2 separate regions of the Homo sapiens genome follow, and region 2 is linked to region 1. Evidence: promoter capture Hi-C in 16 types of primary human blood cells and fetal thymus (Javierre and others, 2016). All regions are on one chromosome and are shown on one strand. The core of a region is centred on a gene start or on the middle of the fragment in contact, and the rest is flanking DNA. Distances in the headings are between cores, read along the strand shown.

The links. Contacts are between HindIII fragments. The CHiCAGO score rates a contact against its expected background, and 5 or more counts as called.
Region 2: a contact is called between a fragment that was not itself captured here and the fragment with the promoter of SPINK6 in region 1, in 1 of 17 cell types (endothelial precursors). The highest score is 5.8, in endothelial precursors.

What each region holds. Positions count from the first base shown.
Region 1 is chr5:148,201,036-148,204,731 of GRCh38, reverse strand. SPINK6 (serine peptidase inhibitor Kazal type 6) reads right to left here and starts at 1,690. Exons shown (of 4, transcript NM_205841.4): 1 at 1,578-1,690. The coding sequence starts at 1,635. The HindIII fragment of the contact is 4,979 bases long and covers 463-3,696 here.
Region 2 is chr5:148,675,676-148,679,371 of GRCh38, reverse strand. No RefSeq gene overlaps it. Among named protein-coding and RNA genes, the nearest start is that of HTR4, 23 kb to the right of the region's middle. The HindIII fragment of the contact is 166 bases long and covers 1,800-1,965 here.

The DNA of each region.
Region 1 (3,696 bases), core at 441-2,940:
AATGTTAATAGACATTTGTTAAACATGCACTATACCCCATCCACTATGTTAAGCATTGTACATGCCTTTTTCTCATTTAATTCTCCACACAGAGATAGTCCTTTATATGTTTATTTTATATATAAGTGAAATAAACATCAGAGAGTTCACAAAGCTATAAAATGAAAGTGCCAGGGCTAAAATTCACTTTACTCTGTTTCAGCATTAAGGCCCTTAGGCATTATGGCCTCCCAAATACTATCTAGTATGTCTGTGAAGCATCCATGCTTTGGTAAACTGTATTAGTCAACCAGATCCTGTTAAAGATCAATTCACCTTTGTAAAGAGAAGAAAAGGAAATAACAATTGATTTCTGAGACTATCTTTGCAGCTAAACTTTACATAGTCAGATATATATTTTTCTGCCATCTCAGCAACTGATTGAACTACCCATTAAGGTTATTTGGCTTTAGTAGTCAAGCTTACTCCATAATATCACAGGAATCCTTTACCCATTTTTTTTGTATTTCTAAGTGTATTTGTTTTTGTAATTATGACCAGCTACAGTGAACACTGGCTTCTCTATCAGCTAAATCTCATTGATTTTTTTTTTACTTGTACATCCATTTAAAATCTTGCATAGTAGTAAAATTCATCTGCTACTGTCACACAAAATGATACATAAGATATGGAAGGTCCCAGGGCTTAGTTTTATTTCTATTATTTTACAAATGACAAAATATCTCAGAAAATTATGTTATTTCTTTAAGTGACACAGGCCATTAATAGAAGAGATGAAACTAGGTCTTAGGTCTAAAAACTAGCATTTGCTTTGTGCCCTACAACGTGAAAGAGTAGAATAATAAGGAAGAAAATAGCTTATGATGGACCTGCTCATTCCGATGGTTCTGTCTTAAAAAACATAACCTTGAAGTATGATTGTGCTTTGAACCTCACTAAAGTGTCCAAAGATATTCTCCTTCTCTAAGATTATTTAGCTCACCAGAAACATATGTTTCTGCATTCTAAGTTTCAATTACATATTTTCAAAGATTTTTCTCATTGAGTTTCCAATTTCCCCATTGTCTTAATTTAATTATTTGAATGTCTTTGTAATAATAACTAAGGGGAGGAAAATATTTCTTTGTTCTGGAAAGCAAAACCAATATTTAATGCAATTATCCATCCTCCAATCTAGTTTTATGGAACAAACATTAAATGTGATGGCAAGAGAATCTGATTCAAATTCCAGATTCTAACTACTAGTTGCAAGTCTTTTGCTGATTTTCTCAATTTCTCTGTTCCACAGTTTCTTATATGAAGAACAGAGATAGAAATACCTTATTATGAGTCTCAGAGACAATACATAAAATCCCTTCGTACATGCCTAGAATATAGTATATGCTCAACAAATCACAGTAATTTTAATAATTATTACCATAACCATTGTCGTCATCACAATCATTATCATCATTATGATAATCTCTCAGAATTGGTCTTTTACATCAAAATCATTAGGATTTAAAATATGATAAACAACTACTCATCATATCCAGTTCAGTATAAATATGGGATCTTAATTTTAAGAAAAAACTTACCTGTTAAAAAGCAGAAAAGAGCCAGAGAGAGGAGCAGAAACATGCCTGACAGTTTCATTGTGTCAGTTAGCTCACTCAGATCAAGGCTGCTTTGTCCAGCTGAGGTTCTCTGTCAAGACAATTCCCAGAAAGCCCTAAAATACATTCAGACCACATGAGTCCTATGCAGTTTATGCATTTAATGGGGCCTGCCAACACATTAAAAAAATGCTTCATGCTCCCCATCAATCTTAAAAATTGGGACAATTATGTGTGTCGCACCTCAGATCTTATTAATAGAGAATGTCATTTTCTACTGGTAGCCTACATTTTCCTAACAACCAATACATCCTCCCGGCTCTTCTTTCTAAAGTTTCACTACATTATAGGGATGATTCACTGGTTGACTTCCACTTGATTCTTATATTTCTTTCAGACAGGTCCTACATGTCTGTGGTCCAAGTGAGTAACCACAGGATAATGGAATCTTGGGTGTAACTTGGATTTTTAGAGTCCAGATCATCCAAGGTGTACCTAAAGGAGACAGATATTCCACACTGTAGCTAGAACTGCATTAGAAGAAGCATTTTCTGAGCAGGAATCAGCTTATTAATTTTTAAATCATTATAGCAGTCAAATGCCAGTGGTTGTCCAGTTTTGAGTCAAAATAAATAGGGAAGTCAATTATTTTCTTTAATTTGTAACAAAAATTTGTTTTTTAAAGTTACTGAATTTAATTTTCTTTTTTTTTTTTCTTTCTTTTTTTTTTTTTTTTTTGAGATGGAGTCTTTCTCTGTTGCCCAGGCTGGAGTGCAGTGGTGCAATCTTAGCTTACTGCAGTCTCTGCCTCCCGGGTTCAAGCGATTCTCCTGCCTCAGCCTCCCGAGTAGCTGGGACTACAGGTGCCTGCCACCATGCCTGGCTAATTTTTGTATTCTTAGTAGAGACGGGGTTTCACCATGTTGGCCAGGCTGGTCTCAAACTCCTGACCTCATGATCCGCCTGCCTCGGCCTTCCAAAGTGCTGGGATTATAGGCGTGAACCACTGTGCCTGGCCTGAATTGAATTTTTGAAATGAGCAATATATTTCCTTTTACTTTTCATATAAAAGTTAGATGAATCACATTATCTTTCATGGCCAATTTAATTGCAAGATAGATCAAAGAGTGCGATGCCACAACCTTCTTTCAGGAAACAGCAACAAAAAAGAATGGTTGTAGTGATAACAAGAACGTCTACCTCAAATCATAAACTGCTATTGAAAATATCATGAGGGAAATCATCTTAAAGTCCTTTACAGAAAGATGTAGGTCAGATGTTAAAAGTATTCAAAGACACTACTGAAAAACCTTAAAAACTATATTTAAAATTTTCTTGAATCCTTTATGGGAAGAGGAGTCAAAATAGCTAGAAAAACAAAATATATGGGAAATTGCTTAAGTCATGAAATTTAAAAACAACAGTTGTACAATTTACCCATTTGTGATCTTTAAGTATGTTTTCTCATTCATATGAGATAATATAAAGATCAGTTCCTAAAACTAAAGCATTGCATAGCATGGTTTTAGGTACTGCTGTGACCTTCCTCCCTCTTTCCATTCTACTTCCTATGTTTCTTCCTTCTTTGACCACCTTTTTTTCCCTCCTTCTGTGACTAGAATGTACAGAATTAGTCTAATAATAATCATGTCCAAAAGTGACAAAAGTTTGAAAGCATAAACAAATAGTAATAAAAAAAATCAACATAACAGTGGTAGTCGATCATATGCCATCATTAAATTCACGGTGATGTTTCTAAACTTCCTGTTTAAACTTCTTCCTCTCTCCCCAGAGTTTCATTTTTGGTCCTTGCTTCTCATATTCACCTCTACACTCTCAGTCACTGTTCACCTAAATATTACCATCTCCCTATCTTCCAGTCTTTCCTTCCCTGCTTTCCTCTGATCTTCAAGAGTTCTTTTTTAATAGGTGATTTTTTAATAGAATTATTCTTATTTAGAATGACTCTGTCCTCTTTTTCAGAATGTTTTCAATTCTCTATCCTCAACATTTACACTACCTACCACAAAAACGCTTAGGAACATGAAAGCACATATTAAGTATTGGCTCTGGATAGACATAGGGAAGGAAATATTATATC
Region 2 (3,696 bases), core at 633-3,132, 470 kb before region 1:
AACTAAGAGTTTGCTTCTAACAGGCCAACACAGAGCAGGATGATGCTTAGCATCAGGATGAAAGTGTGAAGGGAGTAATTAAGAATGCATTCTTGGCCTGGCACGGTGGCTCATGCCTGTAATCTCAGCACTTTGGGAGGCCGAGGCAGGCAGATCACTTGAGGTCAGGAGTTTGAGACCACCCTGGCCAATATAGCAAAACCCCATCTCTACTAAAAATACAAAAATTAGCTGGGCCTGGTGGCTCGTGCCTGTAGTCTCAGCTACTTTGGAGGCTGAGGTAGAAGAATCGCTTCAACTCAGGAGGTGGAGGTTGCAGTGAGCCAAGATCACACCACTGAACTCCAGCCTGGGTGACAGAGTGAGACTGGGTCTCAAAAGAAGAAAAAAATGCATTCTTATTAGTTCATGACTATGCAATGAAATGCTGTTGTTTATTTTATTCACCAAAGACTTTCCAGCAGCCTTCCTAGTCCAAAAATAAGCCACTCACTATTCCATGTCACTGCAGCTGAAATCCTATGTTTAATTATAAAAGATAGTGGAGAAGAATGAGATGGGAAAGGCCAACTAAGGTTGGTAAGGACTTAGCAAGTATGTGGAGAAGGGTATGTGTTTGACCCCAACTTATTAGCCCAGGGGATGGTTCATGTAGTTATAAACACATGAGTAGTTTGGAAGGGTGGGTTGAAGGAAATCCATAGAAGGACATTATTTTATGATAAAGTCATTGTTTTTGCTTGCAGGAGAGGCAGAAGCCAGATACATAGTGACAGTTATAAGCAAAGGGTAGGCAACATGGGAAAGAGACAGGATGAAGACAGAGCCCACCACAGAGCAAGGTGGAGGTTGCCTGAGAATGAGGAGGGCCCAAGGATGTGTGCAGAAGAGAAAGCAAGTGGTGGAGGGAGGAAAGAAGGAGAAAGGAAAGGAGAGGGGAGAGAGCAAGTGAACATCCAGCTATCTCTTTAGTTGTTCTGCTTAGGTCTCTCAGAGTTTCCTCAAAATCAATATTTTTTACCTTCTTGAAAAAGCAAGTTCAACTTTATTTGAAACACTGACTTTATCACAGAATAAAATAGGGTTGAGCTTGCTTTTATTCTGTCATAGAATTCTAGAATTCAAATTTTCAAATAAATTTTGGTGTGTCTGCTTTCAAAATATTTCTCAGCCACATTCATATTGTCCAGTCTCTACTACCACCATCCTTATTTAAACCATTATCATCTCTTGCTTCACTGCTTGAAAATCTCATAGTTAGCTTTCACGTTTTTTATTCACCTTCCAAAACTGTTATCTTGGAGTAACTGCAGTGATCTTTTGAAATGGGATTATAGCACATCCCTCCTTAAAATGCTTCAGTGACTTCCCATTGCCCTTTGAGCAAAATCTAAATTTTCTCTGTCATACATAGTCAATCTCCTCCTGTTCAGCTCTGCTGCAGCCACACGAGCCTTCTTTCCATTCTTCAAGCTCCTGATTCCCTTTTTCTTGAAGTCGTTGCACCTGCACTTCCTTTGGGCTGGAACAGTTTACCTCCAGCTCTTTGTAGACCAGTCCCTTCTCTTCCTCTGGGTCTAACATTAGGTGCCTCTTACTGAGTGATGCCCAACCCAACGACCCCTCCGTTAGTCTCCATAATAGCACCTTGCTAGTTCCTGCATGTCACTTGAACAATTTGTAAGACTATATTTATTTGTTTGCTTGCTTTTCAAGTTGTCTATTTACCCTGTTAGACTGTGTACTCCATGAAGAAAGACTATCTTGGCTCTTTTAGTCACTGTTGTGTCCCTGAAGCTTAGCATGGTGTCTAGCACATTATTGTTGGCATGCAGTAAAGATTGGCTGAATGAATAAATAAAAGGAAGAAAGAAAATCATAGATCTAGACGATATTTTATATCTGTATATATACATACACATACATCTATATATATATAGTATTATTAGGATTGGTGAATAAGCTTTTTAATTAACAAAGAACCATAATTTTGTAAGCTGTTTTAAACATTCTCCTATGGCAAAGAAAGGGCAGCAGGTATAATTGAGCACTTGAAATAGTAACATTCCTTTACTTTGTAAAATGATATTTTTAGTGCATTCATTTCTCCTCTAATTGTTGCTGCATTTATTTCAGTTCCCATGGGAACCTAGAGAAGGACTTTCCCTATATTCCCCACCTCTTTGGGCTTCAGCAAAAGAAAATGGACCTCAAGGGAGTCTTCAAGAGCTGCTTCAAAATTTACTGTTCATCAAAGCACTTGCTGAAGACTGGCTTCATTTCAGAGGCTGTGCTGTGTTATGGAGAAGGAGGTGAAGGAGATACGGTGCTTACCATGAAGGAGAGGTGGCCACATGAATGCATCGTTTTAATACAGTGCAATAAGTGAGGTGATGAGCTTTGCGCAGATTTTATGGAATTAAGGAAAGAGGTCAGGAAAGCTTTTAGAAACTGTAGAGACAGTGCCTAAATTGTGTTTGAAGTTTGTCCCGAGTCAGCAGATGAGAGAGGGGAGGGAAGAGTGGAAAGCAATCTAGGTCAATTATCTTCCTATTTCAATTCAAAAGCATAAAGGAGATTTAAAACACAAAAGAAAAAAAATGAGAGGAATTAAACTTCAGAAAAGTAAAATACACAGTCGTCCACTGCTTATGTCCATGTGGGAAGGATGGATATGGGCCCAGCTAAAGAAAACTGTGAACTGTGGAAGAAAAAATTCCCACACATTTGTCATCCTGGGTTTTCCCAAGTAAAAGGGGTCAAATAGCCACCTTTGGGATGCATCCAATAGTCCCATGTAAGAGATTTTCTTAGGGTGCGGGGTGAGGATTATGGGGGAAGAGATGTACCAGTCTGAAAGGGAGTAAGCTTGACCACGTGGCTTAGTGGCATCTCTGAAACCAATAGGGATAATGATAATGCTGTAGTCCACATGGTTGGTCCAGAAATGGTGTTTTCATCAAAAGAACACAGTCTAGCAATCTACAGCTATTTCAAAATAACCCAAATCTTTCGTAAGTATGTCTCAGCAACAGGAAGGTGCAACATAATTTCCAGGAACATTCAAATTCCCTCTTTTCCTGCTTTTTTCCCACCTGCCTCTCCAACTTCAGGTGCTGCCTTCAGTTTCTCTGCTCTTTAACTCTCTCCTCAAATCCTCATGTCCTTTTTATTACCCCATCATTTCCTCTTGACCTCAAATCCTGCTATCTCAAGAATTATAAGGAGGACCTCCCCATTTGGATGGGGGAGGAGCCTCAACAGCTAATTATTTTAATTAAGTCACATTCTCATTAATTGAATCACTGGGACCTAATTCTGCTACAGACATAGAATCTGATAGTGTGAGAAGCAGAAGGAAATCGGATATCTTAGTACAACGTTCTCCCTTTACAAATTAGAGGTCTATGGTCTAGAGAAAGGAGCCCAGGAGCAGCTTCTCAGTGCCAGGACCATCTGATAATTAAGGCAGTATGTTCTTATTTTCATAGCTACACTCCCTTCAATGAGGCTCAGAACTTAATTTCCGACGATGTAATTCCCGCCTCAGAAGATTCTAGTGTGTCACAGTGGGATCACAATGCTACCTTAAAGATTTTCCTCGTGAAACTGGAATAGAATTTTCGCCTTCTATTTTTATGTTTGAAACATGTTAACATTTTTAAAAATTGCCTTTCTTGTTGGCGTTTTTATTGA